3 separate regions of the Homo sapiens genome follow, and regions 1 and 3 are each linked to region 2. Evidence: promoter capture Hi-C in human tissues and cell types (Jung and others, 2019). All regions are on one chromosome and are shown on one strand. The core of a region is centred on a gene start or on the middle of the fragment in contact, and the rest is flanking DNA. Distances in the headings are between cores, read along the strand shown. Region 1 has its middle 5.3 kb from the start of RBAK. Region 2 holds the start of RADIL (Rap associating with DIL domain). Region 3 overlaps RBAK-RBAKDN (RBAK-RBAKDN readthrough).

What was found. The method cuts DNA at HindIII sites, captures the fragments that hold promoters and counts their contacts. A contact is called where the count stands out against the background at its distance.
Region 1: a fragment that was not itself captured here is called in contact with the fragment with the promoter of RADIL in region 2 in 1 of the 25 tissues and cell types used here (hippocampus).
Region 3: a contact is called between a fragment that was not itself captured here and the fragment with the promoter of RADIL in region 2, in 1 of the 25 tissues and cell types used here (hippocampus).

What each region holds. Positions count from the first base shown.
Region 1 is chr7:5,039,184-5,042,014 of GRCh38, forward strand. It overlaps the pseudogene SPDYE19P. Among named protein-coding and RNA genes, the nearest start is that of RBAK, 5.3 kb to the right of the region's middle. The HindIII fragment of the contact is 4,028 bases long and covers 1-2,831 here.
Region 2 is chr7:4,882,179-4,885,106 of GRCh38, forward strand. It overlaps RADIL (Rap associating with DIL domain), which reads right to left and starts at 1,538. Exons shown (of 15, transcript NM_018059.5): 1 at 1,418-1,538. RefSeq lists enhancers at 240-534, 264-952, 953-1,640 and a silencer at 1,350-1,569. The HindIII fragment of the contact is 17,002 bases long and covers 1-2,928 here.
Region 3 is chr7:5,055,608-5,058,428 of GRCh38, forward strand. It overlaps RBAK-RBAKDN (RBAK-RBAKDN readthrough), which reads left to right. Exons shown (of 6, transcript NM_001204513.3): 3 at 1,688-1,814; 4 at 2,077-2,172. It overlaps RBAK (RB associated KRAB zinc finger), which reads left to right. Exons shown (of 5, transcript NM_021163.4): 3 at 1,688-1,814; 4 at 2,077-2,172. Among named protein-coding and RNA genes, the nearest start is that of RBAK-RBAKDN, 11 kb to the left of the region's middle. The HindIII fragment of the contact is 6,513 bases long and covers 1-2,821 here.

The sequences.
Region 1 (2,831 bases), core at 127-2,626, 160 kb after region 2:
GCCAAAGGGGGTGGATCACTTGAGGTCAGGAGTTAGAGACCAGCCTGGCCAACATGGTGAAACCCCATCTCTACAAAAAATACAAAAAATTAGCCAGGCATGGTGGCGGGTGCCTGTAATCCTAGCTACTTGGGTGAGGGGGTGCTGAAGAATCACTTGAACTTGGGGTGCAGAGGTTGCAGCAAGCCAAGATCACACCATTGCACTCCAGCCTGGGCAACAAGAGCAAAACTCCATCTCAAAAAAATAAAGAACTTGTGAGTGAGTTCCCACATGGCTTCGTAATGTGCTGTGGCTCTCCTAGGAGTCTCTCACTCATGGGAAAGACACAGACTGAGTGAAGAAGCAGATCCCATTGCTGTGGAAGTCCCATTGTTAGGAAACTCTGCTTTTCTGGAGTTCAAATTTGCATTCATGACGCTTTAAACCGTCAGAGCTGGGTAGGTCCTCCTACAACAAAAGAGTTTGCTCTCTCTCTCCTAGTTAACAGGCTTTCAAATATTAGAAGATCAATGTCCTGACCCCATTAAAATTGCTCTTTTGTGGAATGAAAAGCTCTGATTTAACCCGTCTTCAAGCCTGGTTTGCATATTCCCCTCTCTTCTGGCCACCTTGTCTAGACACACTACACTGAGGCCGTGCCCATCTTAAATGATGTTGATACGTTGTCAAAAAACGTAGCGAAGCAGGTGCGGTGGCTCATGCCTGTAATCCTACCACTTTAAGAAGCCAAAGCAGACAGATCACCAGAGGTCAGAAGTTCGAGACCAGCCTGGCCAACGTGTTGAAATCCGTCTCTACTAAAAATACAGAAAAAATGAGCTGGGCGTGGGAGTGCACATCTGTAATCCCAGCTACTTGGGAGGCTGAGGCAGGAGAATCGCTTAAACCTGGAAGGCAGAGGTTGCAGTGAGCCGAGATTGCGCCACTGCACTCCAGCCTGGGCGACAGAGCAAGACACTATCTCAAAAAAAAAAAAAAAAGGCTAAACAGCCCAGGTTTGGTCTGATATGTTCAGAAAAAAGCAAAACAGCCACCTCTCGCCTTCTCTTTTCCCGCAGTGATGCAGTTGAATACAGCAATGGCTGCAGGTATGCGGCAGAAATATCATTCAAGTGACACAGAAGGGCTTTCCTGGCCAGACACAGCGGTCACTCCTACAATCCCAACACTTTGGTTGCCAAGGTGGGAGGATTTCTTGCAGCCAGGAGTTGGAGGCTGCAGTGAGCTGTGATCCCACCACTGCATTCGAGGCTGGGCCTCAGAGTGAGGCCTGTCTCTAAAAAAACTCTTCACTCCCCACAAGAAGGGATTTGCAAATACCAGCCTTTCAGCACGAGGATCACATGGAGGAACATTAAGATATAGATGCTGGGACCTGGCCCTATTGATTGTAATTCAGAAACTGAGGTGGGGCCTGATTTAACCCCATCATTGGAATCCATTCAGATTTGGAACTCTCTGGGTTGAACAGTGTAAGAGAGATCCTAAGAAAGCAAAGTCACTATGGACTAAAATGAGCAGACAAGGTTTTCTTTCTTTCTTTCTTTCTTTTTTTTTTGGAGACAGAGTCTTGCTCTGCCACCCAGGCTGGAGTGCAGTGGCGTGATCTCGGCTCACTGCAAGCTTCGCCTCCCAGGTTCACGCTATTCTCCTGCCTCAGCCTCCCGAGTAGCTGGGACTACAGGTGCCTGCCACCACACCCGGCTAATTTTTTTGTATTTTTAGTAGAGACGGGGTTTCGCCGTGTTAGCCAGGCTGGTCTCCATCTCCTGACCTTGTGATCCTGCCCGCCTTGGCCTCCCAAAGTTCTGGGATTACAGGCGTGAGCCACCGAGCCCGGCCGTAGACAAGGTTTTCTGAGCATAGTGAAATATGATCTGGGCCTCACTTGGGAGGGCTGTGGCCAGGCCTTGAGTCCTTGGCTCAGTGAGACTATCTGAAACAGCCTCCAAGCTGCGCTCCCTGCTTCCTTTGCTGTTGGATGACCTCCTCCAGCGGCTTTGGTGCTGATGGGAATAAGTCGACCTGCAGAGGAAGTTCAGCCCAAGTCTCAGCCCAGCAGCCTCCCCACACCTGACCGGGGTCTGGTCATGCTGCCATCTCTGCGGTTCTCTGCAGAGTTGTGGTTTCTGTACCTTGAAGAGAATTTCCCCTTCTGGAACCCAGAAACCCAGTAAACCCTGAGGAAAAAAGCAAATGAAATTACTCTGTGGCAGGGAGATGGAAAAGAGGCTCTTTGTTTTTGTTTTTTTGTTTTTTGTTTTTTGAGACACAGTTTCACTCTTGTCACCCAGACTGGATTGTAGTGGCTCAATCTTGGCTCACTGCAAACTCTGCCTCCCATGTTCGAGCGGTTCTCATGCCTCAGCCTCCAGAGTAGCTGGGACAATAGGCACACACTACCATGCCCAGCTAATTTTTGTATTTGTAGTACAGATGGGGTTTCGCCATGTTGCCTGGGCTGGTCTCGAACTCCTGGCCTGAAGCAATCTGCCTGCCTTGGCCTCCCAAATTGCTGGGATTACAGATGATGTGAGCCACTGTGTCCAGCCCTCACTGTACGGGTTTTCTAAAAAAAAAAAGATTAAATTTGTCTTATTTGCCACAAGGTAAATTAACCTTTTCTCCTCTCCTTTTTAAAGAGTATTTCCTTGATAAACGTGGTAATATAAATAACTTTTGTGCCTTTGACATGTATCTAAATCTTTTAAAAAGGTGAATGAACTTCTTGCCAACACTACAACCCAGGAATTTTTTTTTTTTTTTTTTTTTTTGAGACGGAATCTCACTCTCACCCAGGCTGGAGTGCAGTGGTGTGATCTCGGCTC
Region 2 (2,928 bases), core at 288-2,787:
GTGCCCACTTGTTCACACGCTGCCCGCTTCCGAATCCCAGAAGGCGGAGCCTGGCCTGTTTGTGAGAATGGGATGGACTCGTTTTTTAAAAGGCCAAGGGGAGTGCAGGAAAATCCGACCGGGCGGAGCACGCCCTGGGTAACAAGATCTGTTTTTCTGGAAGTGCGACCGGCCTCTTCTGCCCCATTCGCTCCTCTGTGACACAAATACTTGGGGAAAGCGCAGGGCTCGGACAGCGAGGGTGTGGGGCGCTGGCTGGTGCTGCTCTTAGAGAATGTTTTCTCTTGTTCTCAAGGAAGGGTCCAGTTTCTGATGAAAAACAAGCTCAAGTCCCAGCGGCGAGTACAGGGAGTGAGGTCAGTGCTGCGCTGACGACATGGGTGGAGCGACCTCTCTGCTCCAACAGGACAATGTGGAACCCATTATCATTTCCAGCAGGAGGGAAAACGAAGCGCAGACTTTACACACTCAGCTCTCTCCCCTCCTTCCATGAATCCTATCTTTACAGCCCCAGCCCGAGCCACGCTTTCAAATGCAAACATAATTCAATCAGATTTAATTCTGACCTGCTAGCTGCTGGAGAGGAGACCGACTTGCCCCCCAGCAAAAGGGACTTTCAAGACTGGTTCCTGTCTGGAATGCACAAGAGGTGGCCTATATTAACCGCGGGACACGAGCAATCAGATTCTTCTGTGCAATTCAGATTAGCCAAACACTTGACAGGCGACAGGGCAGGGCAGGATGGTCCGCAGCCCCGCCAGGGCCCTGCCAACCCCACCAACAGGCTCCTCCTGCGAGGCCCCAGGAGCTCGGCTCAGCATCTGTTATCTTGGATGCAGTATTTGTCGAGGGGCTGGAAATGGTACATAAATAGCCGGGAAACAATGCTTTGAGCTGGCGCACGAGTGGGGATCGGGCTGCAACCGGGACGGGGTATGTGCAGGGGACGTCTCGCCGGCCCAGGTGGGAGAGCGCGCGGAACCCTGCGCCCCGCTCCCCCGCTGCGCCCCGCTCCCCCGCTGCGCGCCCCGGACGAAGCTCCCCCTCCAGGGCACAGCCGGGAAAACTGAGGGCCGAGAGTCCCCTGGAGTTGGGGGTCCGGGGCCCACGCGGACAGCCAGGCTCAGGAGCTCTCGGGGGTCGGCAGCGCGGACCCCCGGATCCCCGCAGGCTGGGCCGCCCTTGCCCGCGCTAGCCGGCCTCCGGGTACCGCCCCCCGGTCCAGGCCGGGGCCCGACAGCCAGTCGGTTCCCATGGCAACTGGGCAAACCTGCCCTCCGCGCCCCGACCAGCGGCCGGGAGTGTCCCCGAGCGCGCCCCGCGGCCTCCGCGCCCCAGGTCCCCGGCAGCGGCCGAGCAGCGCCCCTTACGAGCCACCCCCGGTTCCGCAGTCACTCCTCGCGCACCCCACACTCACCTCCGGCACAACCCGCCGCGCCGCCACGTTCCCGCGCTGCTCCCACCCGCCGTTGGCTGGGGCCGGCGCCCAGACCCGCGCGTGCCGCGGCGCCTCCTGCCGGCGGCGCAACGGGCGGGGCGGGGCCTCAAGGGGACGGGGCCACAAAGGGTGGGGCGGGGGAGAACAGGTGGGCTGGAGCTGGGCCTCGGCGCCCAATAGGCAGAAAGAAAGCCTCGAGGAGGCGGGGTCTCCAGGAGAGGGGCGGGGCCAACCTGCTAGAAAAGGCGGGCTGTGCTCTGGCGCCTCCTGCCGGCCGCCCAATGGACGGGGATGCAGCCTCGAGGGGGCGGGGCCTCACCGGAGAGGCGGGGTTTTGAAGAAAGGGGTGGGGCTGGTTGTGGAGAGGCGGGACTTGCAGCCCACCCACAGACTGCAGCTTAAGGAGGGGGGGTCCCCGGAGGAAGGGTGGGACCAGTTCTAAGTCCCTGAGCTGCTTGTGGGCTCTGGGCTCCTGCGGTTGGGTGGGCTATTTCGAGACAGCACCTTCTAGTAGCCCAGTGAGTGGGTGTAGGGGAGGGTAGAGCTGTGCCCCCAATTAATAAACATCTTCTAAGACATCGAAAAGGAACAAGGGAGGAATTTCCTCTCCCCTACCATCTGTCTCCCACCCAGAGTTTTAAAAGACAAATCAGGTCATGGCATTCCTGCTTACAATTATGCAAAAAAATGACCAGGTCAGCTCTGGGGCTCTGGCCCCAACTGCTCTCCCTGGGGACTTGTTTAAAAAGCAGCTCGTGACCTCGGCACTTTGGCTGGGGTTTTCCCTTTGAGGAATGTGGGCTAGACCTGGGAGATTCAGGTGGTTCGGAATATCAATATGCAGAATGTGGGCCTCGGGAGTGAACCTTTTTGTGGACAGCTATCGTGGTATGATTTCCGTAGTCATGACCCCATATTCGCGATGGAGGTCGGAGCAGACATTGATGAGTGTGGGAACAGACATTTATTGACCACCTGTGTGCCAGGCCCTAGGCAACTTTACCTAGGTCACCTCACTTAATGCTCACATCAATTCTTGTGAGACAGAGATGTCTGAGACATTCCAGGCCTCCCCTTTCCTCCACCTATCACCTGCTAATCCTAAAGTCCACCTCCTAAACCTTTTCTAATAAAAAATAGTGCCTCAAAGTCAACACAGAGAGACAGATTTGAGCCAGGCTCCTGTCTCCTTATTGATCAACTCACAATACGGACAAAAAAAGCTTTTGTCTCAAAAACTTAATGCAGTAAGATTGGCTTTTTTTTTTTTTTTTTTTTTTTTTTTTTTTGGAGACAGAGTCTTATTCTATTGCCCTAGCTGGAGTGCAGTGGTGTGATCTCAGCTCACTGCAACCACCACCTCCCAGGTTCAAGCGATTCTCCTGCCTCAGCCTCCCGAGTAGCTAAGGTTAACAGGCACCTACCACCACGCCCACCTAATTTTTGTATTTTTAGTAGAGACGGGGTTTTGCCATGTTGACCAGGCTGGT
Region 3 (2,821 bases), core at 129-2,628, 170 kb after region 2:
TTGTATATTATGTTTTTAATCTGGTACTGGATTTTGTTTGATTATGTTTCATTTTGGGTTTTTGTATTGATGTAAGTGGTATTGGCATGTAATTTTATGTTATTTATTGGTTGATCAGTCTTCTAACCCCTACTACCTCCTTGCCTTCTGGACTAACTTAACCCAGAAGGTTATTACTCTCTCTCGGTGATTTTATCAGCTCCTGTGGCCTGACTGTGGATAAGCTTGGATGTTCTGCTTTAGTTTCTCAGCCCACAGCCTAGCGGCCCTGCCTCTGCTATCTCTTGGGATCTACATGGTCCTAGCTGTATCACTGGATTTGAACCCCTTGTTGATATGTTCTTTATAAATAATAGGATAATGCAGCCTGCTTACTGGGCACTTCCTTTTTCTAAACTACAAGTTTGGGCAGGGCGTGCTGGCTCAAGCCTGTAATCCCAACACTTTGGGAGGCCAAGGCAGGTGGATTGCTGGAGCCCAGGAGTTTTGCATTTTTCTTTTTTTTTTTTTTTTTTTTTGAGACAAGGTCTCACTCTGTTGCCTAGGCTGGAGTGCAGTGTTGCATTCACAGCTCACTGCAGCCTTGACCTCCCAGGCTCAAGTGATCCTCCTGCCTTAGCCTCCCAAGTAGCTAGAACTACAGGCGTGTGCCATGATGCCCAGCCAATTTTTTTTTTTTAATTTATTTTTAGCAGAGATGAGGTCTTACTATGTTGCCCAAGCTGGTCTCGAACTCCTGAGCTCAAACGATCTTCCCATCTTGGCCTCCCAAAGTGCTAGGATTATAGGCATGAGCCACCATGCCCAGCCCCAACCACTTAAAAATTGAAGCTGCTTCCCGTTTGCCATTGGTACTTTGTACACCTCATCATATTCTTCTTCCCCTTCATCCCATAGAATGCACAATTCATCTTTAAAGACTTCAAGTTAACTGAGTCTGTGAAGCCTAATCTGATGGCATAAAATTAAAATAATTTGATCCTCTTTTGTTAAATCATTCTGCACCTTGTCTGCATTACTCTAATAACAGCTTTGGGCATTCATTCATTTAACGAATATTTATTGCTCCAAGATTGAGATGTTTGAGATAAAACTCAGCCATGCAGATAGCCAGAGGCCACTGGCTATGAGAATAAAAGAGCCAAAAGAACAAGGAGCTGAAACTAGGTGAGAGCCCCAGAGCAGTGAGTTAGGAGGAAGAGGACCAGGAGCTGAGTGGTGGGCACTCCAACATGAAGAGGTCCAGGGCAAGGGGAGGGCCTGGCAGCAAGGAAGACTAAAAGAAGTGACAAGGAGTAAAATGCTTGTGTTTGTTTACATGTTTATCTCCTTTTTAGGTTGTTCACTTTGGGAGCAGGCATGGTGTTTCACTCATCTCATGTCCCCAAAGCTCAGCTAGTTCACTTGCAAAATAGGAGCTCAGTTGTGTTTTGGGTTTTTATTTTTGTGGGGCAATATATATATATTTTTTATATATATTATATATATTTATATATATTATATATTTTATATATTATGTATTATAACCCCAAAGGATATGTGTTTCCAATATGATTTCCCTTCCATAATCTGTAACATAAAATAAGGTATACAATGTTTATGGTTAACTTTACCGGTGGGCTTTGTAAAACGTTATCCCCCTATCCCTTTTCCGTATCTCCCAATTCTGATCATGTTGCCATTACAGGGGCCAGTGTCATTCAAAGATGTGGCTGTGGATTTCACCCAGGAGGAGTGGCAGCAGCTGGACCCTGATGAGAAGATAACTTACAGGGATGTGATGTTGGAGAACTATAGCCATCTAGTTTCTGTGGGTGAGAATAGCTTGCTTTCTGAATGCTCTCAGTTGAATGGGGTTTTATCCTTGAGTTTGAAGAAATAAGTGATGACACCATTTAATTCCTTGTGGGCACTAGCTGGAGTGTTTATATTATTATTCATTGAAAGGTTCTAACTTTGATAAGGTAAAAAATGGAGCACTTCTGTTATGCAGCTTATGAGGTGGCAACATCTTGTACTTCAGAGATTCTGAAGCCAAGCAGCTTCCCCAAGTCCTCCTTCTTTTCCCATTAACAGGATATGATACCACCAAGCCAAACGTCATCATTAAGTTGGAGCAGGGAGAGGAGCCGTGGATAATGGGAGGTGAATTTCCATGTCAACATAGTCCAGGTAAGTTAGTAGCGTATCAAAGGTTAAAAAATGCTCATCCCAGACCTTTGGGAGAGACTAAAGAGTTGTTTATATGTATTCAGTACCCTCAGTAACACCTCCCAACCCCCAAATATCACTTTCCTTCCCGCACACATACATGAACTCTTTTGTTGATTTTACATTTGATTTACATTGGTAGGGATTTTTTCATTCTAACCGGTACTGGAGACCCATTCACTTCCTCTTTCTCCAGCATTATTGGTAACTTATTTACTCCCTTGCCATTACAGAATTGTTTTGGGTTTGTTTGTTTGTTTGTTTGTTTGTTTTGGAGACAGAATCTTGTTCTGTCACCCAAGCTGGTGTGCAGTGGTATGATCTCAGCTCACTGCAACCACCACCTCACAGGTTCAAGCGATTCTCCTTCCTCAGCCTCCCAAGTAGCTGGGATTACAGGCACATGCCACCACGCCTGGCTAATTTTTATATTTTTAGTAGACACAGGGTTTCACCATGTTGACCACACTGGTCTTGAACTCCTGGCCTCAAGTGATCTGCCCACCTCAGCCTCCCAAAGTGCTGAGATTACAGTCCTGAGGCTCCCGGCCTTACAGAATTGTTTTGTTTTGGGGCATTCAGAAGTCTGACATAAAAATCAACTTGAGAC